Regions from separate parts of the Homo sapiens genome. Here regions 1, 2, 3 and 5 are each linked to region 4. Evidence: promoter capture Hi-C in 16 types of primary human blood cells and fetal thymus (Javierre and others, 2016). All regions are on one chromosome and are shown on one strand. The core of a region is centred on a gene start or on the middle of the fragment in contact, and the rest is flanking DNA. Distances in the headings are between cores, read along the strand shown. Region 1 holds the start of WDR87 (WD repeat domain 87). Region 2 holds the start of MAP4K1 (mitogen-activated protein kinase kinase kinase kinase 1). Region 3 overlaps SIPA1L3 (signal induced proliferation associated 1 like 3). Region 4 holds the start of PPP1R14A (protein phosphatase 1 regulatory inhibitor subunit 14A). Region 5 overlaps WDR87 (WD repeat domain 87).

Region 1 (5,137 bases), core at 910-3,409, 350 kb before region 4:
TGCAACTTCTGCCTCCTGAGTTCAAGTGATTCTTGAGCCTCAGCCTCCCTAGTAGCTGGGATTACAGGCGTGCGCCACCACACCCAGCGAATTTTTTGTATTTTTAGCAGAGATGTGGTTTCGCCATTTTGGCCAGGCTGGTCTCAAACTCCTGACCTCAAGTGATCCGCCCACCTCCCAAAGTGCTGGGATTACAGGCGTGAGCCACTGTGCCTGGCCAAAAATATTTTTCTTATGCAAGTGATAGTATACTATATACACTGTTATTCACTTTTCTCTTAATATACCTTTAAGACTAATTCATATTAATACATATAACTCATTTCCCAACAGTTACTAGCTGCAGGGTATTCCACCGTGTGGCTGAACTATCATTTATTTATTCAAATTTCTATTAATGGACATTCGGTAGTTTCCAACCTTTTGCTACTGCAGCTAATGCCGCAAATGAGTATCTTTGTTAGTGCCTCATAACATTTTAATTTTATTTGATTTTAATTAACTTAAATTGTAGAACTGAGGCCAGGCATGGTGGCTCACGCCTGTAATCCCAGCATTTTGGGAGGCCGAGGCTGGCAGATCACGTCAGGAGATCGAGACCATCCTGGCTAACATGGTGAAACCCAGTCTCTACTAAAAATACAAAAATTAGCTGGGTGTGATGGCGCCTGCCTGTAATCCCAGCTACTTGGGAGGCTGAGGCAGGAGAGTCACTTGAACCAGGGAGTCAGAGGTTGCAGGGAGCCGAGGTGGCGCCACTGCACTCCAGCCTGGCGACAGAGTGGGACTCCGTCTCCAAAAAAAAAAAAAAAAAAAGTAGAACTGAAGCAATGAAAACATTTTTCCATTAACCTAACTTGGAATAATATTTTGGATATATTTGGGTTAAATAAAATATTAAAATTAATTTCATAGCTGGGTGAGATGGCTCACGCCTATAATCCCAGCACTTTGCGAGGCTGAGGTAGGAACATGTCTTGAGGCCAGGAGTTCAATACCAGCCTGGGCAACATAGCAAGAAAAAAAAAAGTAAATAATAATGATAAATAAAATGAATTTTACCTGTTTATGTCAAAATTAAAATTGCATATGTGGCTTGCATTACACATAAAAACACACACATATATAATTTTTTTTTTTTTTAAAGAGACAGGGTTCTGCTTTGTCGCCCAAGCTGGAGGGCAGTGGTGCAATCATGGTTCACTGCAGTCTCAAACTCCTGGGCTTAAGCGATACTCAGCCTCTTAAATAGCTGGGACTATGGCCACATGCCACCACGCCTAGCTAGTTTTTTAGTTTTAGTAGAGATAGGGTCTTGCTATGTTACCCGGCCAGTCTCCAACTCCTGGCCTTAAGTGATCCTCCTGCCTCGGTGGCTCAAAGTGCAGGGTATATTTCTCTTAGCTAGTATTGCTCTACATTGTTGTAGTCTGGTGGTGGCCTGATATCCCTACTGGACTGAAAACTCCCTGAAGGTAGGAGTCCAGTCTGTCTGGATTTCTCTTGTGTCTCCATAATCACCCAACCTGACATGGAATAGGTGGTTAATCCATTTTTGTTGAATGAGTGGAAAAATGTGCTCTCCCAGGAAGAAACATATGCTTCCCAGCTTCAAGTGTTAGTGAACATCTTCCTAGAAGGCAGGCTGAGGCGGAAAGGGTATTGACTCCGGCTTCTCCACCAGAGGACCTTGCAATTCCAGTCAATTCCCTCGGTAACTCTTATGGAGGAGTGGCAATATACCTTAAAAAAGGAGTGTGTGTTGCGGGGTATTCCGCTGCTTGGTTATGTCACCAGGTGGATTAAATTTGGACAAAATTTCCCAAGGTGTAGGTACTCTACAAACACTAGTTACCCTCAGGAATGTGCGATCAACAAAAGAATGCAAGATAACAAGGCCCCTAGGCAGCCCCTGGGTCTTGTGGCTCCCGTCGAAGGCAGAGCTCTGGAGCCGCCTACGCCGGGGACAGGCGACTACACCTGGGGCCCCTCACCCTCGGGCCTCCTGCACGTGGCAGGGAAGGCAGGGCGTCTCTATCTCAAAGCATTGGCTGCGCCTGTTACCTGCGACAGGATTCCCGACAAGGGACGGGTACGGCGTGTGCACTCAGGAGCTCCTAGAGCTAGGGGCAGCAACTAAGAAGCTACCTGGCGGATGTTGCGAGAGGACTCCGCCCACAGAACGGTTGGCCCCCAACCCCGCAGCCGGCGGACTTCCCGAGGCCAGGGGTCTGAACGCGCGTGCGCATGGGCGCGCGCCCGGCGCGAGAACGCGCGCGCGCTCTCGAAAGAAAAAAAAAAAAAATCCTCTCCGCGGGGTCCCGCGGCAATTTAGGCCGGGGTCTGCCGACGACCGCGCGTGCGCGGGCGTGCATCTACGCCCTCCTCCACCGCCCCCTCCGCTGGGGGTCTAGCGCACTGCTCCGCTTCCCCCGTTTCCCCCGGGCTAGCGTCCTAGGGGTAAGTGACTCGAGCCTGGCAGAGAGTGAGGGAGAGGTTCCGCCGAATGAAGGGAGGAGGTAGACGGGGCCAGGAGAAAGGAGAAACCGCCCCGGCGGGGCGAAGAGCGCGGCTCTCGAGCTGTAGTCTGCAGGAGACACACCTCCCTCCCTCACGCCCCTCGGGGCTGCGGAAGTGCTCTACAGACTGGAGCTGCACGAAGGCGACCAGCGGACTACCGTTCCTAGGAGGCAGCGCGGCGGTGCGCCTACGGCTCCCGGCAGCCCCCGCGCGCCATTCTCTTTTTGAGTTCGCGGCCGGCTAGGGCGAAACTACAGTTCCCAGGAGGACTCGCGCGAAGCGGCTTGGAAGTGGGCAGCCTGGAAGTCACTCGGGCCACCGGAGCTGGCGGCGTCTCCAGCGAGCGGCGCGGAGCTGGACGCCGCGATCGTGGGGCCCGCGAGGCGGGCAGCCGGGGCGTCCAGGTACGTGGCTCCGGGTGCAGGATCGGCCTCGCGCAAGGGTGGCGGGGAATCGGTGGCTGCCCGGACCCCGAGGGTCAGCGCGGGCGGACGGCCGGGTGTGGGTACTGGCCGTGGGGGGCGGCGGCGCCGGGACTCGCGCCCTCCGGACCCAGCCGGACTCGTGCCCGCATGGCTCAACTTTCCAGGCGTGCACCCCGGCGCTGTGGTGAAGAGCTTGGAGGCGGGGAGCGGTGGATTCGCGTCCCGGCTGTGCCACTCGGGAGCCGCGATCTGGGAAAACCGCGCCGAACCTCAATTTCCCCTGCAGTAAAACGGAGTAGGAGAGCATCTTGGCGGAGACTCTGTTGAGATAATATAATAAAACATTTGGCACATAGGAGGCACTTACTACGTATTTGGGTTATTGTTAGCTCTCCGAAAAATGAGGTGAAGATGTTATCGATTGCATAGGGTGAGGATTAGTTGAGCGTGTGCATGTAAAGAGGTGAGTCCTTAGTTAGCACCCAATGCAGGCTAGCTGCTGTTAACCGAGATTATTTTGTTAAGAGCGTTGGTTTGGAAGGCAGAGAGACCCCAGGTTCAAATTTGAACATTTACCAGCTGTGTGACTTTGGGCAACTGGCTTCACCTCTCTGTGCCTTGGTTTCCCTATCTATAAAATGGGGATTTAAATAGCAACCACTTCGTCGAGTTGTTTTCAGGATGCAGTGAGAATACCATGTGTAAAGTGCTTAGCACAGCAGCTGGCATATAACGCTCAGTAAATGGTACCATTTATTCAGCGTTTTCCTAGTGGCCCAGAGACCCTCTGAGGGTGGGGCTCTGGCCGTAGTATTGGTCACCCCCGAGGGCCAGATTCAGAACTGGTCCAGTTGACTTCCCTTCCTACTACCTCAGGTTCCTCATTTACAAAATGGGATAATAACAAGATCACTCTCAAAGGGTTGTAAGGATTTGCTGAGATTGTATTTCTAGTCCAGCGCCATCTCTCACTAAGTAGCAGCTCTTATGTATTATAATTGTTCTTCAATATTCTCCATCTGGCCCAGAGACTGCCTGACTGTGGGCTGTGACATGACAGCCCTGAGCTCCCCCACACATTTGCTCCCATCCTCAGTGTCCCATCTGTGGAATGGTAGTCATAGGACTTTTGTGCCAGGATTGTTTGGATGGTTCCAGGAGATAATTCATGTTTAGTGCTTTGCACAAGGCCCGGCACACAGTAAGTGCTTATTAAATGATTAAATGTATCTTGCTGTTTTTTTTTTTAATAGGCCCTTTTTGCTTCTGTTTGTACCTACATGGCAGAGTGAGCACAAAGTTAGTGTTTTTTTATCTTCCCCCTCCCTCCCAAATTTTACTTACCAAAGATTAAATTATGGAACACACTATAGTAGAAAGGCCTAAGAAGAAATGGGTCTGACCTGCCATCAGCAGTCCCCTGCTCACACACCCCTCCCCACAGAGCCAGTATGTTCACTCCAGTGCTTTAATTATTGTCCTGGTGCTGCCAGCTTTTGCCTTTGTGTCCCAAAGCCACTGAGTCCCCTGCACTCCAGCTCCAGATGTGGAGCCTGTGCTTCTTTGATGCTGTGGCTCAAAGAAGTGGCTGTTTCTTGGGCACCATAAACTCAGCATGTCCAACCTGAACTCCTTCTCCTCCTGGAACCAGTAGTCACCATCTTGGCAAATGTGCCAGCATTGACCTGGTTGCCTAAGCCAGAAACCTGGGAGTTGCTCTTCTTCCCCAGCCTTCCCATATCCAGTCAACTAGCAAGAAGGACGAAGCTGCCATTTCATAGAAACACCATTTCATTGGCCCATATTGGTCTCCCATCTGATGGGCACTGAAAGTTCCCCTCAGCTTGAGACGGAGTCTTGCTCCATAGCCCAGGCTGGAGTGCAGTGGCACAATCTCAGCTCACTGAAGCCTCCGTCTCCCGGGTTCAAGCAATTCTCCTGCCTCAGCCTCCTGAGTAGCTGGGATTACAGGTGCCCGCCACCACACGTGGTTAGTTTTTTTTTTTTTAGTAGAGATGGGGTTTTCACCATGTTGGCCAGGCTGGTCTTGAACTCCTGACCTCAGGTGATCTACCCATTTTGGCCTCCCAAAGTGCTGGGATTGTAGGGCATGAACCACCGCGCCTGGCTGTGACAAGGTTAAGTCAAGTCATTAGGGATTAACATACGTAAACCTATGTAACATATGTATT
Region 2 (5,217 bases), core at 486-2,985, 360 kb after region 4:
CCAGCCCCACAGAATTCCATGCAGATCCAGAGTTTCTGCAACCTGCAGTGGTTCAAGAGTAAGAATAATAATAGCAGTAAATACATTATTATTTGCAGGAAAGCCCCTGGTTTGCTTCTGTCTTGTTCTAGTTCAATAAGAACTTTAACGTAACAGCTCTCATCACTCCACCTCTCCTTGTCTACCAGAGTGAGGTTGTTTCATTCCCATTTTACAGACAAGGAAGTTAAGGCTCAGAGAGGAAATGTGAGTTCCGGGGCAAGTCAACTCAAACCTAGGCCTTTGGGCGGGACCCCACTGCCGTCCCACGCCAACCTAGGAGGCAGGGCAGAGATCTCACGGGTTGTGGAGATTTGGAGGGGACAGAGGGGCCCAGGGCACCTGTTCTGGGGAGCAGAGGTCATTATTGGGGCATCTGGAATATTAATTTGGGGATCAGGGAATTTAGGAGTTTATATTAAAGGAGCAGAGAGTGAAACTGGGTGAGCCAAAGAGCAGAATGGTGAGAGCTTCGTTTCAAGGGAGTTGATTTCAAATTCAGTTACTATGAAGAGATCAATTTGGGGTACTCTTGGTCAGAAATGGGAATTTTAGATTGGAGATTAGATTAGAGGCTGCTCTGGTCAGAAAAGTGGGACTTAGGAGTGAGGATCATGGTAGGGTTAGCCCAGTCAAAAATGGGGGTCCAGGATGGGAGGTCGGGTTATGGTGAGAAATGGAAGTTCAAGGTTAGAACTGAGGGTGCCAAGACCAGGCGCGGTGGATCACACCTGTAATCCCAGCACTTTCGGAGGCCGAGGCGAGTGGATCACAAGGTCAGGAGTTCAAGACCAGCCTGGCCAAGATGGTGAAACCCCATCTCTACTAAAAATACAAAAATTTGCCGGGCAGGGTGGTGAGCGCCTGTAATCCCAGCTACTCGGGAGTCTGAGGCAGAGAATTGCTTGAACCCAGGAGGCAGAGGTTGCAGTGAGCTGAGATCATGCCACTGCACTCCAGCCTGGCAACAGAACAAGACTCCATCTCAAAAAAGAAAAAGAAAAGAAAAAAAAAGAACTGAGGGTACCCCCATCAAGAAATGGGGACTCCGGGTTAGGGGCTGGGCTGGGTGCCAGGGTGGGTCTGAGGTTCATCACCAGAGATAACTCCCATGGTAGGCCACGATGTTGGCGTGCCGGCAAGTTTTCAATATGAGGATTTCCTTCTGAAGGGTGGAGACATCATCATCTGTGAGGAGGGCGGGAGAGAAAAGGCAGCTCGCATGGGGAGAGAGCTACAGGGGAGGTGATCCCAGTGTCCCAGGAGGCGAAGGTGGGGATGTGGGGAAGGAGCTCCATGTTCCCTCCTCACCAGGCTCCATCTTCACCATCTTCAGTGCCACCAGGTCCCCTGACACCTTGTCTCGAGCCTTGCAAAGGGGAAGTTGGCAGTCAGGCAGGCTCCATTTGCCAGAGTCCCTCCACAGCATCCCTGAGTCAAGGTCAAGAACTGGGACCCCCTCTTGCAGCCTCCTCCCTGCCGAGGGCTTGCCTTAAAGGTCACTGGTTGTAGGGTGTTGGGGACAGAGGGGCTTCCTCACCTTAAAGACTTCCCCATACGTGCCGCCACCCAGCCGCTGTAGCAGGTCATAGTGGTCCCGGGGGTCTCTATTGAAAATGTCAGGGTCCACGACGTCCATCCCTGGGGGCCTGAGCTGGGCCTGCGCCCAGGGGCCAGCAGGGCCTCAGGGCTCAACTTCTGGCACCTCCCTCCGTCCCCAGAAGCCCTGCACCCGCCTTGCCTCCGCGGGCTGTGGCCTCCCCCCTCCTCACTCTCGCTTCCTGCCCCAGCTGCACTGCACGACTGTGCAACGGGCTCCACCCCCCCGTCCCCTGGGCTCTGAGAGCCTCTGAGGGGCAGCTTGTCTTGGGACCCAAGGGACCACCCTCAACCTCCAAGGCCCAGGGCTGGATGTAAATGTGATGCAAATGATCTTAATCGTAACTGGGTTGGAGGGGGGTGCCTTAGAACCCCCGCCCCCGTCTCCTAGGTAGTGTCTAAACCTCTGCTGGGTGCTTGAAGGTTTGGCCACAACCCGAAGGCGGCAGGTCTGCAAAGGGATGGCTATGCAGTGTACATGCCTGTTCACCTGTCACATACATGCACTTGGGTTACCTCCTCTGCACTGCGCAGGCGTGTAGACGTGCATCTGCCTGGATACCTGTGTGCACAGTACACACGTGGATGTACCCAGGACATATACCTCCACATGCATGGCACATAACTGCATTTTGTAGGCCTGCAGTGTACAAAACCTATACATAATATATAATTCATGGCAGTACAAATGGGACGCTCGCCCTCAGCTCCAAGACCGGAACCTAATGGAGACGGGGCGCGATCCGGCGAAGTCCAGGAGCCCTCACCCCAGCCCCTGCCCGGCAGAGCACAGTAGCTTTGTGGGACCCTCCTCCTGGAGCTGGGGACCAAGGGCTGAGACTTGAAACTGGAGAGCTCAGGATCCTGCACCAGGCGCCCAGGCCTGTGGCAAGAGGGACCTCAGAACACCTCCCTCGGAACTTGGCCATGGCCTAAACGTAAGGCTGCTGCGTGCATTCCCGCAGAGCTCCGTGGCCTCATGGCCGCGCGCAATACAACGCGCGCGCACGCCGCCAGAGCTCCGGGTGCTTCCCGGTGAGTTCGCGCGCGCACGCTCCCGCGCTACCGGCACTGGAACTGGGTCTGTGAGGCCCGGGAAAAGCTTAGCCCCGCCCCCTCGCCACGAGAGGCGCCTGCGCACTGGGATCCAGTAAGATTTTTCTCACGCTGTCTGTCCAGCTTGAGTGGCGCGAATGCGCACGCGCCAATTGCGCCTGCGAGGAAGAAGTCACGTGGCAGCCGGAAAGCGTGGCGGCTGCTGCTAGAGCCTTTCCCTTTACCGCACCCAAGGAGCTGGAGCGACAACAACGACGTCGTTTCCGTTTCCACCACCTCTTCCTGTTCCCGTCCTTGAGGACGCCGTGCCGGGTCAGTGTTAGCCTCCAGCCCTGGTTGTGGAAGGCGACAGAAGTCATGGCGATGTTTGAGCAGATGAGAGCCAACGTGGGCAAGTTGCTCAAGGGTATCGACAGGTCTGAGCCCGGTTGGAGGAAGCGCTCTGGCCAAGCGGGGCGGAGGAGAGGGTTTTCCGGAGACAGCAAGGGGTGTTCAGGGTCCTGGGCTTGCCGCGGGGTGGGGTTTCTCTATCCTCCTGGAGGAGGAGATGCTTAAAGAAACGGCACTGAGCTGGGGGTAGTGGCTCACGCCTGTGATCCTAGCACTTTGGGAGGCCGAGGTAGGTGGGTCGCCTGAGCCCAGGAGTTAGAGACCAGCCTGGGCAACAGCCAAACCCCGTCTCTAAAAGAAAGAAACAAAAGCACTGCAAAGGCCTAGAAGCGAGAGAATCTTGGTACCACTCAGTCTCTTCGTAAATTGCCTTAAGGTTTCCTTCTCTGCTCCGCCTCCTTTGAGTGCCTCTTAATCTCTCCCTTCTCTGCTCTATAAGTCATTCATTCTCCACACGTTTACTGAAATAAACTGTCAGTGCTAGGCAATGCTGGGAACCACAGGCGAATCAGACAGCGGCAGATCATGCCTTCACGGTCTGAGTTCCCTTTCCATAAGGGAGACAAACCTGACAGCAGACAGCGATAGCCGGGAGAGATTAGAACTGAAATGGGGGAAGCAAAGGCCAGAGTGTTCAGGTGGACATGGAGGAAGTAGGCAGCGAGGTAGGCAGGAGAGGATGGGGCTGGATCAGGGTGGAGGCCTGAACAGGGGAGGAAGGGGTGAGTAGCAGAGACATTCAGGAGGCCAGGTGTACAAGCTGCAGTGACTGACTGGCTCAGAGGTTGAGGAGGCATCCTAGGGAAGAGCCAGGGCTCCAGTGGAGTTTAGAGCTTAGGCGAGAGGTCTGGGATAAGAATAAGTTTTACTAGAGATTATACTGGACATAATTCACTACCTGGATAGAGCAAGTGGCCAGTGCCAGATTTAGAGGGGAAGGGCGGGAGGAGCAGGTTACAGTGGCCCCTTGCTCCATAAGGTGGCTGGCCTCAGCTTCTGTCTCCTCTGTGCTCACCTATCTTGATTCTCCTTTAGGTACAATCCTGAGAACCTGGCCACCCTGGAGCGCTATGTAGAGACGCAGGCCAAGGAAAATGCCTATGATCTGGAAGCCAACCTGGCTGTCCTGAAGCTGTAAGTGTCTAGCTCTCTGTCTACACTCCCATTGCAGCAACTAGCAGGGTGCCACTCCCAGTACAGGGCAAGGGGGTGGCTGGTAGTATCCTGAACAATGCAGCATCTCTTGGTGTGCAAGACTAGGAAGCCAAGGAAGTTGGGACAGGAGGAGGGATGGTTTTTGAAAAATCAATTGCCGGGCGCGGTGACTCACGCCTGTTATCCCAGCACTTTGGGAGGATGAGGCAGGCGGATCACCTGAGGTAGGGAGTTTGAGACCAGCCTGGCCAACACGGAGAAACCCCATCTTTACTAAAAAATACCAAATTAGCCAGGCGTGGTGCCACATGCCTGTAATCCCAGCTACTCGGGAGGCTGAGGCAGGAGAATTGCTTGAACCCAGGAGGCGGAGATTGTGGTGAACCAAGATCGCGCCATTGCACTCCAGCCTGGGCAACAAGACCGAAACTCCGTCTCAAAAATAATAATAAAAAATCAATTAGGGTGGCCGCAGGGGCTCATGCCTGTAATCCCAGCACTTTGGGAGGCTGAGGCGAGAGACTCACTTGAGCCAAAGAGTTCGAGACCATCCATGGCAACATAGCGAGACCCAACCCTACGAAAAAATTTAAAAATTAATGTAGCGGTGTGTGGCTGTAGTTCCAGCTACTTGAGAGGCTGAGGTGGAAGGATCGCTTAAGCCTGGAAGATTAAGGTGCAGTGAGCCATGATAGTGCCACTGCACTCCAGCCTGGGGGACAGAGTGAGACCCCTCTTTTTAAAAAAAAAAAAAAAAAAAAGAATTACCAATTTGGGTGACATGGCACAACCCTGTCTCTACAAAAATTAGCTGGGCCCAGTGGCGCATGGCTGTAGTCCCAGCTCCTTGGGAGGCTGAGGCAGGAGAATTTTTTGAGCCTGGGAGGCAGAGGTTGCAGTGAGCCAAGATCATACCACTGCACTCCAGCTTGGGCGACAGAGTGAGACCCTGTCTCAAAAATAAATAAAGGTTAATTA
Region 3 (5,578 bases), core at 2,580-5,079, 300 kb before region 4:
TGGCCACCTCATTGCTCCTTCTTTTATGGGATTTCCAGGTCGCAACCACAGATGGTCACCTCTCATCCAGTGAGCTATGGCTGGAGAATAAGCATGGCCATCCCACCCGTGCCTGTGTACATGCACAGTTTTCATTCAAAGGGGACTATAAGGCCAGGCACAGTGACTCACACCTGTAATTTCAGCACTTTGGGAGGCTGAGGTGGGCGGCTAACCTGAGGTCAGGAGTTCAAGACCAGCCTGGCCAACATGGTGAAACCCCATCTCTACTAAAAATACAAAATTAGCCAGGTGTGGTGGCGCACGCCTGTAATCCCAGCTATTCCGGAGATTGAGGCAGGAGAATCGCTTGAACCTGGGAAGCGGAGGTTGCGGTAAGCTGAGATCCCGCCATTGCACTCCAGCCTGGGAGACGAGAGAAACTCTGTCTCAAAAAAAAAAAAAGTTGGAGAGGGGACTCTAGGAAGCCTGAAAGACCCACTCCCCTGCTGTCCTGGCCTAGGGTACATTTCCCTTTTCTCATATGAAGCAACATCATATCATGGTTAAGAACATGGCCACATTGGCCGGGTGCAGTGGCTCACGCCTTTAATCCCAGCACTTTGGGAGGCCAAGGCAGGCGGATCACAAGGTCAAGAGATTGAAACCATCCTGGCCAAAATGGTGAAACCCTGTCTCTACTAAAAATACAAAAATTACCTGGGCGTGGTGGTGCATGCCTGTAGTCCCAGCTACTCGGGAGGCTGAGGCAGGAGAATCGCTTGAACCCGGGAGGCAGAGGTTGCAGTGAGCCAAGATGGCGCCATTGCACTCCAACCTGGGCGATGGAGCCAGACTGTGTCTCAAAAAAAAAAAAAAAAAAAAAAAAGAGTGTGACCACATTGTCTGGATTCAGAGCTCTGCCACTTGCTAGCTGTGTGACCTTGGACTCATCACCTCACTCTTGGGGCTGCAGTTTTCTCACCTGTAAAATGAGGATGCTAAAGCCTTTTACTTCAGGGTGTGGTTCAGAGCATTAGACAAACTTAGGTAAAGGACTCAGTCTGAGCCTGATACACAGTAAGCACTCAAAGTATTAGTTTTCATCATCATCGTTGTCATCCTTACTTTTCCTTCCTGAGGCCGGATGGTGCTCTACAGTTCAAGATAGGACTTGGGAATAAAGAGCGTAGGATTGATCTCAGCTCTGTGACCTTGCCCAAGTGAGTAACAGCTTTGGTTTCTTCATCTGCGTAGTAAGGACAAGAAAGAGCTTACAGGGCTCGATCATTGGATGTACGTTTGTCGTCTGAGATTTGGGGCGACTGGAAATTCAAGAGATCCCAAGTTCCCTGCTCAGTGCAGCCCCAGCTCCTGATCACACTTGAACGCGAGCTGATGGCGGGCTTGGTTCTAGGGCCTGCCTCGCCTCTGTCATGAAGGCTGCGCGGGGCCCTTCTGTGCCGAGACTGGCGCTTGCTCCCCACAAGCCCGTCTGCTGCTCCCTCCGCTGCGAGCCCTCCCAGGTCTGATCCGCCTGTCCCCAGTACCCCGGCATGCGGCACTTTTCCTTCTTCTCTTGTGAAAGGCAGATCTGGAAGAAGCTTCTGGGGAAATGCTGTGTTTGTGTCTGGTTATATCTATTCCCCAGACGGTGATTCTTAAACCTGGCTGTGGGTTGGCATCACCTGGGGAATCTTGGTAACAGTTGGGATTCTCTGGCTTCACTCCTGGAGCATCTGCTCCCGCAGGTGGAGAGGAAGATCATCTGCTGGTTTGGCCGCCCTACAACCATTCACCATTCTTTTGGGGTTTTCCTGTTGGGAACTGCTCTTCCTCCATCCCGTCCGTTCACTTACTGAGACCGCTGTGTGCAATTTATTATTTACCCCAGGCACTGGGGATATGGCAGGGAATCTGGAATATGCCCTTGAAACTGGAATTGTGTCTGTCCGTTAGATCACAGTACCGTAAGGCTGTCACTTTCTGATTTTTATAATTGTACTGTGATCCAGAGATTCTTCTTAGGAAATACCCACATCTTGAGGGGTTACAAACAAGAGCAAATTAACTGGAAAAGGGAAGCAAACCAGTGTTGGCTGAACAAACATGAAAATGACTACAATGTTTATCTTCAGTTTTGGGAGAATTGTCATGAAGACTCAACCACAGTGTCATCCTTTGTACAGAATAGGATTCTAATCAGGAGACCAGTGCTCATGTGCACAGCTTTGAGTGTGAAGATCTAAAAATTTTAGTTGGTAGGATGATTACAGATTATTTTCATCTTCCTCTTTACAGATTATTTTCATCTTCCTCTTTAAACTTTTGTATATTTTTCACATTTTCTAGAAGGAAGTTTTAGAAACAGAAGTGGGAAAAAAAACAACTTAAAAAAAGCCCCGGGCCAGGCGCAGCGGCTCACACCTGTAATCCCAGCACTTTGGGAGGCTGAGGTGGGCGGATCACGAGGTCAGGAAATAGAGACTATCCTGGCCAACACAGTGAAACCCCGTCTCTACTAAAATGCAAAAAATTAGCCGGGCATGGTGGCGGGCGCCTGTAGTCCCAGCTACTCGGGAGGCTGAGGCAGGGGAATCACTTGAACCCAGGAGGCGGAGGCTGCAGTGAGCCGAGATCACACCACTGCACTCCAGCCTGGCGACAGAGCAAGACTGTCTCAAAAAAAAAAAAAAAAAAAAAAAGCCCCACTGTTGTGGAATGTCCTGGTCTACCTGGTTTGGACTTAGAAATGCCTTAGGAGTAGCCTGGGCAGTTCAGGTCATTCCTTATCTTCCTGCCATAGGGATTGGTTCAAGGAAGGGAGGAGGTGAGTCAGTCCAATCAGAATTAAGACAGGTCTTTCTCTGGAGCTCCCAGGAAAGAAGAGGAGCTTTCTTCCTATGGAGGTGCCAAGTTGTAGAGTGTAAGCTTAATGCTGCTGGGGGCCTGGGGACCATCTTTGCTCAGAGGGTCGAGTGGAAAGGAGATGGAAATAATTCATTACAGACAAATTCTTTGGGTAACTGAACTTCTCAGTAATGGGAGCCAAAACATTGGCCCTTTTTCCCCTCAAGTCAGTTTGAATTGGGTCTCTGCCACTTGCAACCGAAAGAGTCCTAAGTAATACAGTAATTTTAGTGGACCCTAGAATCTATATTTAAATTTAAAAAATTCTCTGCCAGGCGCAGTGGCTCATGCCTGTAATCCTAGCACTTTGGGATGCCGAGGTGGGTAGATCACTTGAGGCCAGGAGTTCAAAACCAGCCTGGCCAACATGGTGAAACCCTGTCTTTACTAAAAATGCAAAAACTAGCCAGGTGTGGTGGCAGGCACCTGTAATCCCAGCTACTCAGGGGGCTGAGGCAGGAGAATTCCTTGAACCCGGGTGGTGAAGGTTGCAGTGAGCCAAGATCGTGCCATTGCACTCCAGCCTGAGGAACAGAGTGAGACTCTGTCTCAAAAATAAAATAAAATATAAAAATAAATAAATAATTCTCCAGAAATGATTTGTATGAATCAGATATTTGAGAACCACTTTGCTAGACTTTCCTGAGTGGCGGTTCTTAGCTTTATGTGATCAACAGACTGGCCTGGGGAACTTGTTAAAATACAGCAGCTCTGTTCCACATTGCTGGAGATTCTGGTTTGGGGCCTGAGGCCTGGGTATCTGCATTTTGAACACCATCCTGGGTGATTGCATACACTTCAGAGTGTGTGTATGCACAGAGGATTCTTGGCCGGGCACGGTGGCTCACGCCTGTAATCCCAGCACTTTGGGAGGCCGAGGTGGGTGGATTACAAGGTCGGGAGATCCTGGCTAACATGGTGAAACTCCGTCTGTACTAAAAATACAAAAACAATTAGCCAGGCGTGGTGGCGGAGGCCTGTAGTCCCAGCTACTCAGGAGGCTGAGGCAGGAGAATGGCGTGAACCCGCATTCTCAGCTTACAATCCTATCCATAGAGGGGGCCCAGGATCCTTCTCAAATGAATGAAAGTAGAGTTTAAGTCTGCAGTTTTTTTCCTCTTTGGAAAAAAACATTCCTTTCCTGCCCATGACCCAGCCTTGCACACTGGCCGCTAAACCTGGCGTATCGCATCATGTTTCAGGAGGAATTTGGTCAGATCTGTGCACTTTATTAGGATAATGGTTGACCCAGTGTGTACCTCCCCAGGTAACTTTGGAAAGAGCTGGATAGAGTTCATGACCAATTCGGAACAAAGTCTGCTCTTAGGAGGAATTTTGCTAATAGTGGGAAATATTCAAGAGGGTAATCACTGACTTAGTTCAAGGTAATTTAAGGTGAATGCATTCCTCATGTGTGTGTGTGTGTATGTGTGTGCATGCGTGCCAAACTTACTTGAGGTGAAGGAGGGGCGAAAGCCCTTTTACTCGAATGAAAGGAAATCTTTTGAATTGACCTATCGGTTCAGAAAATCCCTTTTCAAATCTTCCCTTGAGCAGCTTTGCTTTTGAGGCCCCTGAAAGCTGGGAAAGAAGGGGCTGTGAGGCCTGACTGACTCCTCGCTGCTGGCTGTACCCCCAGGCACGTGTGATTTTGCCATTGTCTGAAATCTTGCTTTCCCCAGAATTTGTGCCCCATGCTGAGTTCCTACAGCTCAGCCACCAGGAATTAGGGCATGGGTTAGCCAGGATTATTCAAATTTAATCTGATCATCGTTAAACATTTTTGCTTGCATCCTCCCCAAAAGAATTTTGATAAGCCCCTGTATACCTCCTTGTACACTGTAAAGCTAACATCTAAAATAAGCTTATGGTAACTTTAAATTTGTCTTATTTGTGGGAGAAGAAAATAGTACACATTTTGAAGGTCGAATGTAATTGAAATATTTTATGATGTGGTTAGATAAAAAAAAGTTTTTACTACCTTATTGAGTAAAGTACACAGAAGCTGAAAGCAATCATGTAAATTTTTCCCTGGGAATTTTTTCTTGGTGGATCTAGAAAAATTCAGTGGTCCTGAAAAATGTTCCCTTTGAACAAATCAGAGCCACTAACCTATACTGCTTTGACATTCATGATCCTACTATGGTTCAGAAAATCCTATTTTTAAAGCCCAGTTTCATGTTTGGCAGAAAGATACTTAAGTCAGGGAAAGACAGGCAAGTCTGGGGGTTTAAGTAGCTTTTTATTGTTCACTAAAGGCTACTTCCCCGAAACCAATATTGATGTTGTGTGTTTGGAGTCCTGGAGGTTTACACACCTCTCGGTCGTGCTCCTTGGGAAAATGGGGGAGTGCACAACAGCGGGTGGGCAGTGGGGAAGGAGACAGGCTGGTTTGCAGCCAGATCAGTTTTAGGAAGAGGAACTTGTGGATGTTGAGGATCTGAACATTGCTTCCCTTGAAAACACTGTTTTCAAGATACTCCTGTATCTGTTAAGTTTCCGTAAACCCCTAGTGATAAGCACATCCAAGCGTGAAGCCTCTCGGCTTTAAGAACCAGGCGGTTTCATATGGAGTGGGAAGTCCAGAGGTGATTAGGTTACAGAAGTTGTCACCACCACCGCCTGTATGTGTGTATATATACACACGTGCCATAAAAGTCACCCATTCAGAATATGCAATTCAGGCTGG
Region 4 (5,634 bases), core at 3,135-5,634:
CAGTGACAGGGGAGGACAGAGGGAGACTGAGCCCGAAGGCTGGTGGCCAAAGGACAGGCACAGGAGAGGCAAAAACAGGGCAGATGGGGGAGGACAGAATGGAGCCCCCTCAGCAGATGGGGGAGAGAGGGAGAGAGACAAGTAGGAGGACAAAAGACACCCCTGGAGACCAGAAAGAGCTGCGGAGGGCAGGTTGGGGCCGGGGGTGGTGGGGCCGGGTGGTGTTCCCCAGAGACCCTTCTGCCAGCTTCTTCCCCCTCCCCCATCAGAGTACTTGGGGCCAGAACAGGGAGAGAATGAGGGAGAGAAAACTCACCTCGACAGGTTTCCCACATGACTTCAGGAGTCCCTAAAACCCCCAACCAAGAACAAAACAAAACAGTAAATGACTAACACCTACTCCCCTCCAGCCCCTTCCCTTTCCCAAAAGGCCCCAGCAGCAAGACAAATGGAAGTCAGACTCCAGGGTGGACTGCCCACCAAGCTTCAAGAGAGGAACAGAGCCCAAGGGGCATGTGGATCGACTCAGGGCAGGGGTGAGTTACTAGATCCAGAGAGGGCGAGAGGGTCACACAGCACTTCCCTCCTCTAAAAAGGTATAAGCCATAAGCAAAGACATGGCTGCCAAACTGCCTGGGTTCGATGCCCAGCTCTGCTCCTTCTGAGCTGTGTGACACTGGGCAAGGGATTCAACCTCTCTGGGCCTCATTTTCCTCATGGGGAAAATGGAGCTCACACTAGCGCCTGCTTCGGAGGGTTTTGTGAGGGTTAAGTGAGTGAATACATGTAAAGCCATCACACCAGTGCCCGGCATCTAGTGAGCACTCAGTAAACACGTGAACTATTGCTATTATTTTTAGGGAGGTGCAAAGTGGGAGGCTGGGGGACACGTCCCCCCACCTACCTGGATTTTCCGGCTTCTCTCCTCTTCACTCTCTAACTCCAACAATTCATCAATGTTGATCTCATCGGGCATGTCTGCCTCCTAGGGCCAGGGAGGGAGGGGTGCTTAGGATCCCCTTCCCTCCCTCCCTCGCCTTTGTCCAGGGCTCTGCAGGAGCCCCACCGGCCCCAGGGCCCAGCTGGCGGGTTCTGGAGCATTAATGTGGCAGTCCGGGACAGCACTGCCAAGACGGGACATCTGGGTGTTGGGGGGGAGGGGTGACAGATGGGCTGAGAGAGCCCCGGGGCCCTGTACCAGCCCGATGCCTGGGCCCATGGGCCCCGGGAGCCTCGGGGCTGGCACGGGTCTCTCGCCTTGGCTCTAGTTCCCACAGAGGAAAACAGGCCTAGTGGAGTCCTGGAATGTCAGATTCTGGGATTCGGGAGAGGAGCTGGCTTCTGCCCTTTCAAGGAAAAGTCTTAGCACTAGGTGCAGGGGAGGAGAGGCTGGCAGCCAGCAGCCAGCTGGGGCGGCCCCTTCCCCCAGGGGACAGGAAGGGAGGGGACAGGAAGGGAGGGGACGGCTTGGGCCAGCCCCCAGAGGGCCAAAATGCAGCCTGGTGAGACCGAAGGGAGGACCACCGAGGCCCCTCAAGGTGGGTGGGTGGGATGAGTCATGGCTCAACTCAGCTGCTAAGAGCGGGGCGCTGAGTGTGGCCTCTACAGGCAGTGGCCCAAGCGCAGGCTGGCTCAGTACCCCTGCTGGGAATAGGACCCAGCTGTCCCCAGCTGTCGAGGGAGCAAGAGAGCCTTGGGGTTATGAATCCTTTCCTCCCCAACCCAAAGTCCGGCTGTCGGCTTCAGGCCTGGGGCTTCAGGGCTGGATGGTCCTGGTTCATGTGTGGTGAAGGGGCTTCAGCAAGGACACAGGTGTGTGAGTCTCTGCCAGGGCCACAGCCTGATGCCAAGGGCCTGGGGCTGGCCGAGGATGCAGAGGGACCTGGCATCGTGCAGTGGCTTCGTATAGTGGACTGTGGTCCTGCAGGTGTGAGGTGTGTGGCTCTGGCTTGGGTGTGTGACACATCAGCATGTGTCCACAGTCAGCTGTGGGGCCCACCACCTGAGAATGGCCTCATAGATGCCACCTGCCACTAGCAACCAGATTGGTTCACCTGTATGGGCCCAGGTGTGAGTCTGAGAACAGAGGGACTGCATGTCACCATGGGAGAAGGGCCATGCCTTCCACCATTGTCGCACCATGAAGAGGAGGACTCGTGGGTCCTGTGTACACTGTAGCATACAGAAGTCACAGAAGGCCAGGCGCAGTGGCTCACGCCTGTAATCCTGACATTTTGGGAGGCCGACAAGAGAGAATTGCTTGAGCCTAGGAGTTCAAGATCAGCCTGAGCAACATAGCGAGGCCCCATCTCTTTTTCTTTTTTCTTTTTTTTGAGACAAAGTCTCCTTCTGTCACCTAGGGTGGAGTACAATGGCGCGATCTTGGCTCACTGCAACCTCCGCCTCCCGGGTTCAAGTGATTCTCCTGCCTCAGCCTCCCAAGTAGCTGGGATTACAGCTGCCTGCCACCATGCCCGGCTAATTTTTGTAATTTTAGTAGAGACAGGGTTTCACCATGTTGGCCAGGCTAGTCTCGTACTCCTGACCTCAAGTGATCTGCCCACCTTGGCCTCCCAAAGTTCTGGGATTACAGGCGTGAGCCACTGTGCTCGGCCAATGAGGCCCCACCTCTAAGGAAAAGAAAAAAGAAGTCACTGAAAGTGTGACTTCAAGCAGAAACTCAAGTGATGAAGTACCTGTGTGTGTCAATACATGTAGCTGTGGCTTAGGCTCTTGTGTGCCTGTGAGCAGCGGTGGGTTCTGCAGTTGTATGTCCACCTGTTCCTATAGCTTACAGTTTTTTGTTTGTTTGTTTGTTTTTGAGACGGAGTTTCGCTCTTGTTGCCCAGGCTGGAGGGCAATGGCGGGATCTCGGCTCACCGCAACCTCCTCCTCCCGGGTTCAAGCGATTCTCCTCCCGAGTAGCTGGGATTACAGGCATGTGCCACCACACCCGGCTAATTTTGTATTTTTTAGTAGAGACGGGATTTCTCCATGTTGATCAGGCTGGTCTCAAACTCCTGACCTCAGGTGATCCGCCCGCCTCGGCCTCCCAAAGTGCTGGGATTACAGGCGTGAGCCACCGTGCCCGGTGCTTACACAGTTTTATGTCTGGGTGTAGTTATAAATTCTGTTGGGTTTTGTTTGTTTTTGAGACACGGTCTCGCTCTGTTGCCCAGGCTGGAGTGCAGTGGTGCAATCTTGGCTCACTGTGACCTTGGCCTCTCAGGCTCAAGCAATCCTCCCACCTCAGCCTCCTGAGGAGCTGAGATTACAAGTGCGTGCATGCCACCACGCCCGGCTAAGTTTTAAGATTTTTGGTAGAGACAGGTTTTCCCCATGTTGCCCAGGCTGGTGTTGAACTCCTGACGTCAAGCAATCCTCCTGCCCCGGCCTCACAAAATGCGTGAGCCACTGTGCTGGGCCAATTTCTGTTGTTTTATGTCTTTGAGTGGCTGCGGATCAGCGCTTGTGCTTGAAGGTGGTCAGTTTTTTCTTTAGGAGATAAGGAAGGGCCGTAACTTGAGTCATTTTGTGTTCCAGTGGGGTTGTGCTGTGTCTGCCTACGGCTGTGGCCCATGCCGCTGTGTCTGCGGGTGGCTGTGACTGTAGCATATGTTGAACTGTAGGTGACCCCCCCCCAGCCCCCGCTTGTGTCCTTGTGGGTTTGTGCATGGCTGTTACTTCTGGGCTGTGTCCGTGAGTGGCTATAGCTTCCTTCACTGTGCACATCTGTGTCTGCTTTTGCTTCCTTTGCCGTGGGTCTCTGTGTGGCTGTATCTCCCCTGTCACCATGTCTGTGTTTGGCTTTATGACACCCCCCTTCCCCCACTCTTTCTCCAGACGTGGCGGTTTCAGCTCAACTTAGCCTCCTCCCTCCTCATGCTAAACCCCTGGCCCTCCACAGGCGTTTGGACACATCTCTGGAGACCCAAGTCTTTGTGTGTTGCTCTCGGTGTGTCCACAAGCACAATGCCATAGAGCACGGATGGCCAGGCCAATGAGTGCCCGGCCCTGGGGCGCTCGTCCTCTTGTGCAGACCAGGCTGGCCGTGCACCAGCGAGTGTGCACCGAGACCCCAAGGGCGTGGGGTCTCCGCGCCCGGGCTCTATCTGTCCCCGACCACCCCCGAGCCCTCCCCGGGCTCACCATGCCGCGGTACAGCTCCTCCAGGCGCCCGTCGATCCACTTCTCCACGTCCAGCCGCCGCTGCAGCTCCCGCCGGTCATACTTGACGGTGACGCGCGCGTGCCGCTTCTGCAGCCCCCCGGGACTGCCCCCTGGCCCGCGGGCCCGCGATGGAGACTGCAGCTTGCTCAGCACGCGCTTGCCCAGCCGCTGAGCTGCCATCGCGCTGCTGGACCCAGCCTGGCCCCGCGCTGTGCGCCTTCGCCTCGCGCCCCGGGTGCTTCTTACGGGCCAGGGCGGGGCTAGCCGGGGGCGGGGGCTCGGGCTCGCCGGGAGGTCTGCCCCACCCCGGCCGCCTCAGGCCTCAGTTTCCCCGTCTGCAGTGCGAGAGTAGGCCGCTGCGTCGGCTTGAGGCACGCAGTCGTGCGAAGTTGAGGTATGGGCGGGGACCCAGAGTCCCGGGCGGGTCCCTGCATCGGGGGCTCCCGGGCCGGGATCCTGTGGGGCGGGGGCCTGGGACAGACACTCGGGACCCGGCCTGTCTGCGCCCTCTGGCGGTGGCGGGGTGGGGGGCTGTTGGTGCGGGAGCGCCTGCGCCGCTGTCGCTGTAGAAGGTCGAGCGGTCACTTGTTCCTTCGTTCATTCATTCACTCATCCATCCATTTGTTTGTTCACTCATTCCGTTCAACGAATTTTTTTTTTTTTGAGTCGATGTCTCTCTTTGTCGCCCAGGCTGGAGTACAATGGCGCGATCTCGGCTCACCGCAACGTCCGCCTCCCAGGTTCAAGCGATTCTCCTGCCTCAGCCTCCGAAGTAGCTGGGATTACAGGGATGCACCACAACACCCGGCTAATTTTTGTATTTTTAGTAGAGACGGGATTTCGCCATGTTGGCCAGGCTGGCCTCGAACTCCTGACCTCAAGTGATCTGCCTGCCTCCGCCTCCCAAAGTGCTGGGATTACAGGCGTGAGCCACCGCCACTGGCCCGGTTCAACGAATATCTATTAAGTATCCACTCTATACCAGACACTGCTTTACGCTCCAGGGATAGAGCAGGGAACAAAACAGACAAAACCAGTCCCACGCAGTTGACAGTTGTAGCCGGGATACATGAGAAACACAGTAAGTACGGTATTATACAGTTTATTATCATATAAGTGCTTTGGAGAAATATAAAGCAGAGAAGGAGAAATGGAGTGAGGGTAAGGTTGCAATTTTAGCGAGGGTGGCCAGGGAAGTCCCTTACTTCAAAACAGTCTTCTCACTTCTAATTATAAGCAGCAATAATTATACTCTAAAATTTAAATGTGGCTGGGCGCAGTGGCTCACTCCTGTAATCCCAGAACTTTGGGAGGCCAAGGAGGGTGGATCACGAGGTCAGGAGTTCAAGACCAGCCTGGCCAACATGGTGAAACTCCATCTCTACTAAAAATACAAAAATTAGCTGGGCCTGGTGGCACATGCCTGTAATCCCAGCTACTCGGAAGGCTGAGGCAGGAGAATCG
Region 5 (5,171 bases), core at 2,503-5,002, 370 kb before region 4:
GTCCATGAGCTGGTAGAACTGTTCCATCCAAGCAGTGCTGTCTTTTGGATATCGCTGCTGCAGCATCCGCAAAACATGGTACAGTGCCACAAATGTCTCCCACAAAGGCAACTCTTCCTTTTTTTTAGAAATGGGCTGTGTCTTCTTCTCTAACTTGGGCAGTTTAGGAAACCTGCGTTTATCCTTAAAATCCCAGAAGTCCTTTTGAAACATCAGTGCCAGGGTTTGTTTTTCCACAGAGGCATGGGCACTTGGAAAAATGTCTCTGGTGGCAGGATAAAAGTATTGCATTTCCATCTCCTTGTGAGCAATGGATATCTGCTGTGCCCTCTCACTTCTGTAAGGTTCTCCTAGAAGATGCCAATTTTTAGCCCTTGGGTCTGGAATCCTCTTGGTAGCTAATGGGGACTTTTGTGTGGGGACAGCCAAAGGTTTTGGCCAGCTCTCCTTTTCCTTTGCTTTTATAGGAGGAATCACTTTCAGGTATTTTGGACTCATGGACTGTCTACTTGAGATCCTTGTGTCTTGTGACTCCAGGGCCTGTCTGTGACGGTACACAATGGCTTCATGTTTGGCCAGATGCAGCCATTCTAAGTTTCCCTTTGAGGCAAGGTCTTTGAGCAGCTGGCACAGTCTATGGAAACCATCCCTGGAAAGCTGTTCTCCCGCTTCCATTCGTTCTAGGACATGGCGGATCCACTCTACATCTGAGAGGCTTACGTCTGCATGTTGTTCCTTAGCTGGGATTTGGGAGAGAGGTAACTGTACCTCAGTCTGTCCCATCAGAGGTGGATGCTGCAAAAACCACTTCCACCAGGCACCTAGTGGTTTGTGTTGGAGTTCCTCAGCTTCCACGGTCCTCCTTAATATGTGGGACATAAATGGGGTCTTTAAGTCCTGTGCTTGGGACTCCAAAACTGTACCCAAAACATGTGGAGGTATGGGTTCATATTTTCCCATCACTTCTCTTTCTTTATCCATTGTCCCTAAGAATTTCCTGGGTATTTCAACTACTGTGGCCTTTTTATCTTCCCAGGATATTTGTTTCTCCGGCACTGGCACTGGTGTTTTCTCTTTCATCTCCAGAGCTGTTGACATCAGTTTCTTCAAAGGGCTTTTTAGAACTCCTAGTCTTATAGCCCTGCCTTTGCCATGAGGAACTCCTCTTAAAATGGAAAGGACTCTTTCCCTTCCTCTTAGGCTCTTTCTTCTTTGTTCTTGTAACTTAAATTGTTTTTCTTTTTTTAAGATCTCTTTTTCCCTGTCCACCTCTTCTTCCAATGAGCAGCTCTCCTCTTCCTCTTCCTCGTCACTCAAACTTTCTGTCTCTTCCTCACTCATAATTTCTTCTTTCTCCTCAAACACTTCTTCCTTCTCCTGAACCTCCTCCTTCTTCTTTTCCTTTTTCTTCTTCTTCTTCTCCTCCTCTTCTTTCTCCACTTGCTTCTCCTCCCCTTCCTCCTCCTCCTTCCTTTCCTCCTCCTCCTCCCTTTCCTCCTCCTCCTCCCTTTCCTCTTCTTCCTCCCTTTCCTCCTCCTCCTCAGAAGACAAACTCTCTTGCTTTTCTAGTTCATCTAACAGGCTTTCCATTTCTTCAGAAAAATGCTCTTCACTTTCCACTTCATCCACTTGACTGGAAAACTTTTCTTTTGGTTTGTCACCTCTCTTGGCCTCTTTCCTCTTTCTCCACCTTCGTTTAAGGAATGGGATTACCTCTTCTTCTTCTATTCCTCCTTCCTCTTCATCATCCAGTATGACTTCTGAATGCTTTCTGGCCAATTTGCTCTCTTCCTCAGTCATTTTTTCTTCTTTGTTTATCATTCTTCTCATTTTGTTGGCCAGTTTTCTCTGCTTCCGAGCCAGTTTCTTCTCATCTTTAGTCAGTTCTGATCGTTTTTCAGAAAAATCCCACTCTTTGATATCCAGCTTACTCTGTTCTATACTCAACCTGCGCTCCTTAACAAAGAGTGCCCTCTTCATCTTTGTCATTTTTATTTCTTCCTGTGTTAGTTTCCTTTCATCCCTGGTTAGTTTTTGAAGTGCCTTTAAGATTTTGTTCAGTTTTGCTGGTTCCTTGGAAAGGCTCTCCCTTTTTTTAATCAACTTCCTTGAAGCCTTGGCTAACTTTCTTTGCCCCTGGACAAATATTCTCTGTCCTCTAGTAAATTCCAGTTTTCCTTTGGCAATTTCGCTTTCCTCCATGGCCAATATCCTGTCTTCATGTAGCAGTATCTTCTCCTCTAGTGACAATTTTCTCTCAAATAGTTCTTGTTCAACTTGAGTCATTTTCCTTTGTCTAGAAGTTTCTGGAGTCTCTCCCTTAGACAGTGTTTCTTTTCCCTCAACCAGTCTCATCTTCTCCTCAGCCAGTCTTTTCATTTCCAGGTTCAATGCCTTTTCTTCCTTAGCAATATCCAACTCTCCTCTGAGCCGTTTCTTTCCTTGGACCATTGCCTTCTCCAGAGCTAATTTCATTTTTTCCTGGGCCAATTTCTCCTGTTTTTTGGCCAAACTATCCTCTACTTGGACCAATTTTTTCTCTGTTTCAGCCAGTTTCTCCTTCTTCTTGATCACAGTCTCCTTTTCCTGTGTCAGCTTCTCCTCTACCTGAGCCAGTATCTTGTTGAACATTCCCAATTTGTTCTTTACTTGCACTAATTGCTTTTTGCTGTGGGTGAGTCTTTCTTTATTATAGAGTAGGTTCTCTTTCCTCTGAGCCAATTTTTCCTTCTCCTGGGCCAGATTCTTCTTTTCCTGAGCCAGATTCTTCTTCTGGTACAGTATCATCTTGTTCTTTGTGAGTTCTTCCATGCTGTTGATCCATCTTTCCCTTTTTTGGGCCAGTTTCATCTTCTTCTCAATCAATTGCTCCCTTTTCCGTCCCAGTCTTTCCTCTTCCTCAGGCATTTTTTCCTTGTGCTGGGCCAGTTTCTCCTTTTCCTGGATCAGCAACTCTTCTTCCTGGGCCAGTTTTGTCTCTTCTTCAGACAGTTTCTCCCTTTGCCAGGCCAATGCCTCCTCTTCCTCAGCCAGTTTCTTCTTTTCCTCAACCAGTTTCCCCTCTTCCTGATTCAGTTCCTCTTCTTTCCAAGACAGTTCTTCCATGTCCCATTCCAGTTCCTCCAATTCCTGGGCCAGCTCCTTTTCTTGCCAGTCCAGATTTTGTTCCCTCTGGGGCAGTTCTTCCACTTTCTGGGCCAATATGTTTTTCACCTCAGCCAGTTTCCCTCCTTTCTTTGCTAGTTTCTCTTCTTCTCTAGCCACTTTCTCCCATTTCTTGGCCAGTTTCTTCCTTTTCTGGGCCAATTTCTCCGCCTCCTGGCTTAGCTTCTCCCCTCTTTGGGCCAGTGTTTCCTCTTTCTGGGCAAACTTACCCTCTGCCTGGGCCATTTCCCTGTCATCCTGGGTTATTTTCACGTATGCCTGGGCCAGTTTTCTCTCTTCCTGGGCCAACTGTCTCTCTTCTTGTGCAAGTTTCTCTTCTTCTTGTGCTAATTTCCTCTCTTCTTGGGCTCGTTTTTTTTCAGCTCGGGCTCGTTTCCTGTGTATTCTGGCCCATTTGTGTTCTTCTTGGATGTGTCTCTGCTCTTCTGTGACCTGCTGTTCTTTTTCTTCCCCCTCCCGAGACACTTCTTCCTCCAAAGTCACTTCTTCCTCATCCTTGTACTGTTGCTCCTTGGACTTAGATGATAACATATTTTCCCAGACTTGTTTCCACTCCTCCCATTTCAGCTTCTTGTCCTCCTGAAGCATTTCCTCCTCCGGGGATAGCTTCTCTCCAGCCTGATGTAGTTTCTCCTCTTCCTGAAGAAGCCTCTTCTCCCATTCTTCCTTCCATGCCTTCCAGGATTTCCTTGTCTCACCATGGACCTGTTTCCACTCATCCCAGGCCTTTTTCCAGTCCTGCCAAGATGGTGTCCTCTCAATCATAACCAGTTTTCCTTCTTGTTTGACCACTTTCTCCTCTAGTGTGGCCATTTCCTCCACTTCCTCACTCATATCCCTCTCTTCTTTGGTCATTTCCCTCTTTATTTTTCCTACTTTTCTTTCCTTCTGGACAGCTTTCCTCCCTTGCTTAGGTGACTTCTGAAAGGTTTTCTTCTCTTCTTTCTTTGATATTTCTTTTCCCATGGTTACATTACCTGGTTCTAAAAAAATAACTTTCTTGCCCTTTTTCAAAATCACTTGGGTTTCCTCCAAGCCCAGCATGTCTCTTGCTTTCTTTTGTGCTTGTTCTTCTTCCCTTGGCATCACTTCCTTGTGTCTGATCACCTCTTGGGTCACACCTTGTATCATGTCCTCTCTAATTGCTCCTTCCTGGATAAAAATTGGTTTCTTCTCTGGCGGGACTACATCCCAATCAAGGTCCTCAAGCAGAACCTTACTTTCTTTCTTCAATAGGGGGCAGATCTCCTGAAAGAGTTCCCAGCTGGGGTGCCTATCTACCAGCATCTCCTGAGCAAATGTCACTAGCTCAGCGTTTAGGTTTTCTGACATTTTTGTTTGGGAACCAGATATCCTCAGGGCCATAAGACGACATAGATCGTCCCTCCATGATGAGCCATCTCCAGCGGTTGACCTGCGGCCAGATATTCCAGAGGCTCCCCGCCCTTGGATTTTAACCTTTTTAGTAACTGGCTGTTCCATTACAGGAGGTGTAGTTTCCTCATTTATAACTTTGGCTTCTTTTCCCTTCTTTTTGTGCTTCTTTTTGAGTTTCTGAGCTGTTGCTTTCTTGTCTCTTTTGTCACGTATTTTCTGCAGCCTCTTCAGGGTCAATGCAATGTGATCCTTCGAGATATCTTTCTCTTGAGAATCAACATCTTTTGAGAGCTTTATTACACTGGTGCTTGAAGACCATTGGGAATAGACGGATGCTTCCTCCATCTCAATTGGTGCGGCCTCAGTCCCACTTTCATCCTCTAAGAGGCCTGGCTCTGTGCTCATCTGTTTAGAGTCTCTCTCTTTCGTCTTCTTGAGACCCCGCAACCATTTTTGGCCTGCAGTAAAAATCGAGAGATGGAGGTAAGCAAAGTATGGGAAGCGACATGAAACCCTTCCCAATATTAGGTGTGAGCTAAGAAGAACTGTCATATAAGAAGTAACAACAGAGAGAACTGAGGCCTTAAAAAAAAAAAGCATTCTCTTTGCTTTATTCCTAGCCCCCTACT

What was found. Contacts are between HindIII fragments. The CHiCAGO score rates a contact against its expected background, and 5 or more counts as called.
Region 1: the fragment with the promoter of WDR87 here is called in contact with the fragment with the promoter of PPP1R14A in region 4 in 3 of 17 cell types (naive CD4 T cells, M0 macrophages and non-activated CD4 T cells); the score reaches 5.8 in naive CD4 T cells.
Region 2: the fragment with the promoter of MAP4K1 here is called in contact with the fragment with the promoter of PPP1R14A in region 4 in 1 of 17 cell types (neutrophils); the score reaches 6.6 in neutrophils.
Region 3: a contact is called between a fragment that was not itself captured here and the fragment with the promoter of PPP1R14A in region 4, in 2 of 17 cell types (naive CD8 T cells and monocytes). The highest score is 5.2, in naive CD8 T cells.
Region 5: a contact is called between a fragment that was not itself captured here and the fragment with the promoter of PPP1R14A in region 4, in 6 of 17 cell types (naive B cells, non-activated CD4 T cells, naive CD4 T cells and 3 more). The highest score is 8.6, in naive B cells.

Annotation. Positions count from the first base shown.
Region 1 is chr19:37,904,435-37,909,571 of GRCh38, forward strand. WDR87 (WD repeat domain 87) reads right to left here and starts at 2,160. Exons shown (of 6, transcript NM_001291088.2): 1 at 2,065-2,160. It overlaps SIPA1L3 (signal induced proliferation associated 1 like 3), which reads left to right and starts at 2,774. Exons shown (of 22, transcript NM_015073.3): 1 at 2,774-2,924. RefSeq lists a silencer at 2,886-3,125 and an enhancer at 3,426-3,485. The HindIII fragment of the contact is 21,411 bases long and covers 1-5,137 here.
Region 2 is chr19:38,616,218-38,621,434 of GRCh38, forward strand. MAP4K1 (mitogen-activated protein kinase kinase kinase kinase 1) reads right to left here and starts at 1,736. Exons shown (of 31, transcript NM_001042600.3): 1 at 1,580-1,736; 2 at 1,351-1,408; 3 at 1,137-1,227; 4 at 1-42. The coding sequence starts at 1,678. EIF3K (eukaryotic translation initiation factor 3 subunit K) reads left to right here and starts at 2,971. Exons shown (of 8, transcript NM_013234.4): 1 at 2,971-3,110; 2 at 4,120-4,218. The coding sequence starts at 3,052. RefSeq lists an enhancer at 2,260-2,309. The HindIII fragment of the contact is 13,708 bases long and covers 1-2,738 here.
Region 3 is chr19:37,949,233-37,954,810 of GRCh38, forward strand. The region is part of intron 1 of SIPA1L3 (signal induced proliferation associated 1 like 3); the gene reads left to right. Among named protein-coding and RNA genes, the nearest start is that of SIPA1L3, 45 kb to the left of the region's middle. The HindIII fragment of the contact is 1,843 bases long and covers 2,909-4,751 here.
Region 4 is chr19:38,251,990-38,257,623 of GRCh38, forward strand. It overlaps PPP1R14A (protein phosphatase 1 regulatory inhibitor subunit 14A), which reads right to left and starts at 4,385. Exons shown (of 4, transcript NM_033256.3): 1 at 4,150-4,385; 2 at 905-985; 3 at 317-349. The coding sequence starts at 4,350. RefSeq lists a silencer at 4,177-4,364. The HindIII fragment of the contact is 11,548 bases long and covers 483-5,634 here.
Region 5 is chr19:37,885,277-37,890,447 of GRCh38, forward strand. WDR87 (WD repeat domain 87) reads right to left here. Exons shown (of 6, transcript NM_001291088.2): 6 at 1-5,000. All of the region lies in intron 4 of LOC105372395 (a long non-coding RNA gene), which reads left to right. Among named protein-coding and RNA genes, the nearest start is that of WDR87, 19 kb to the right of the region's middle. The HindIII fragment of the contact is 9,115 bases long and covers 1-5,171 here.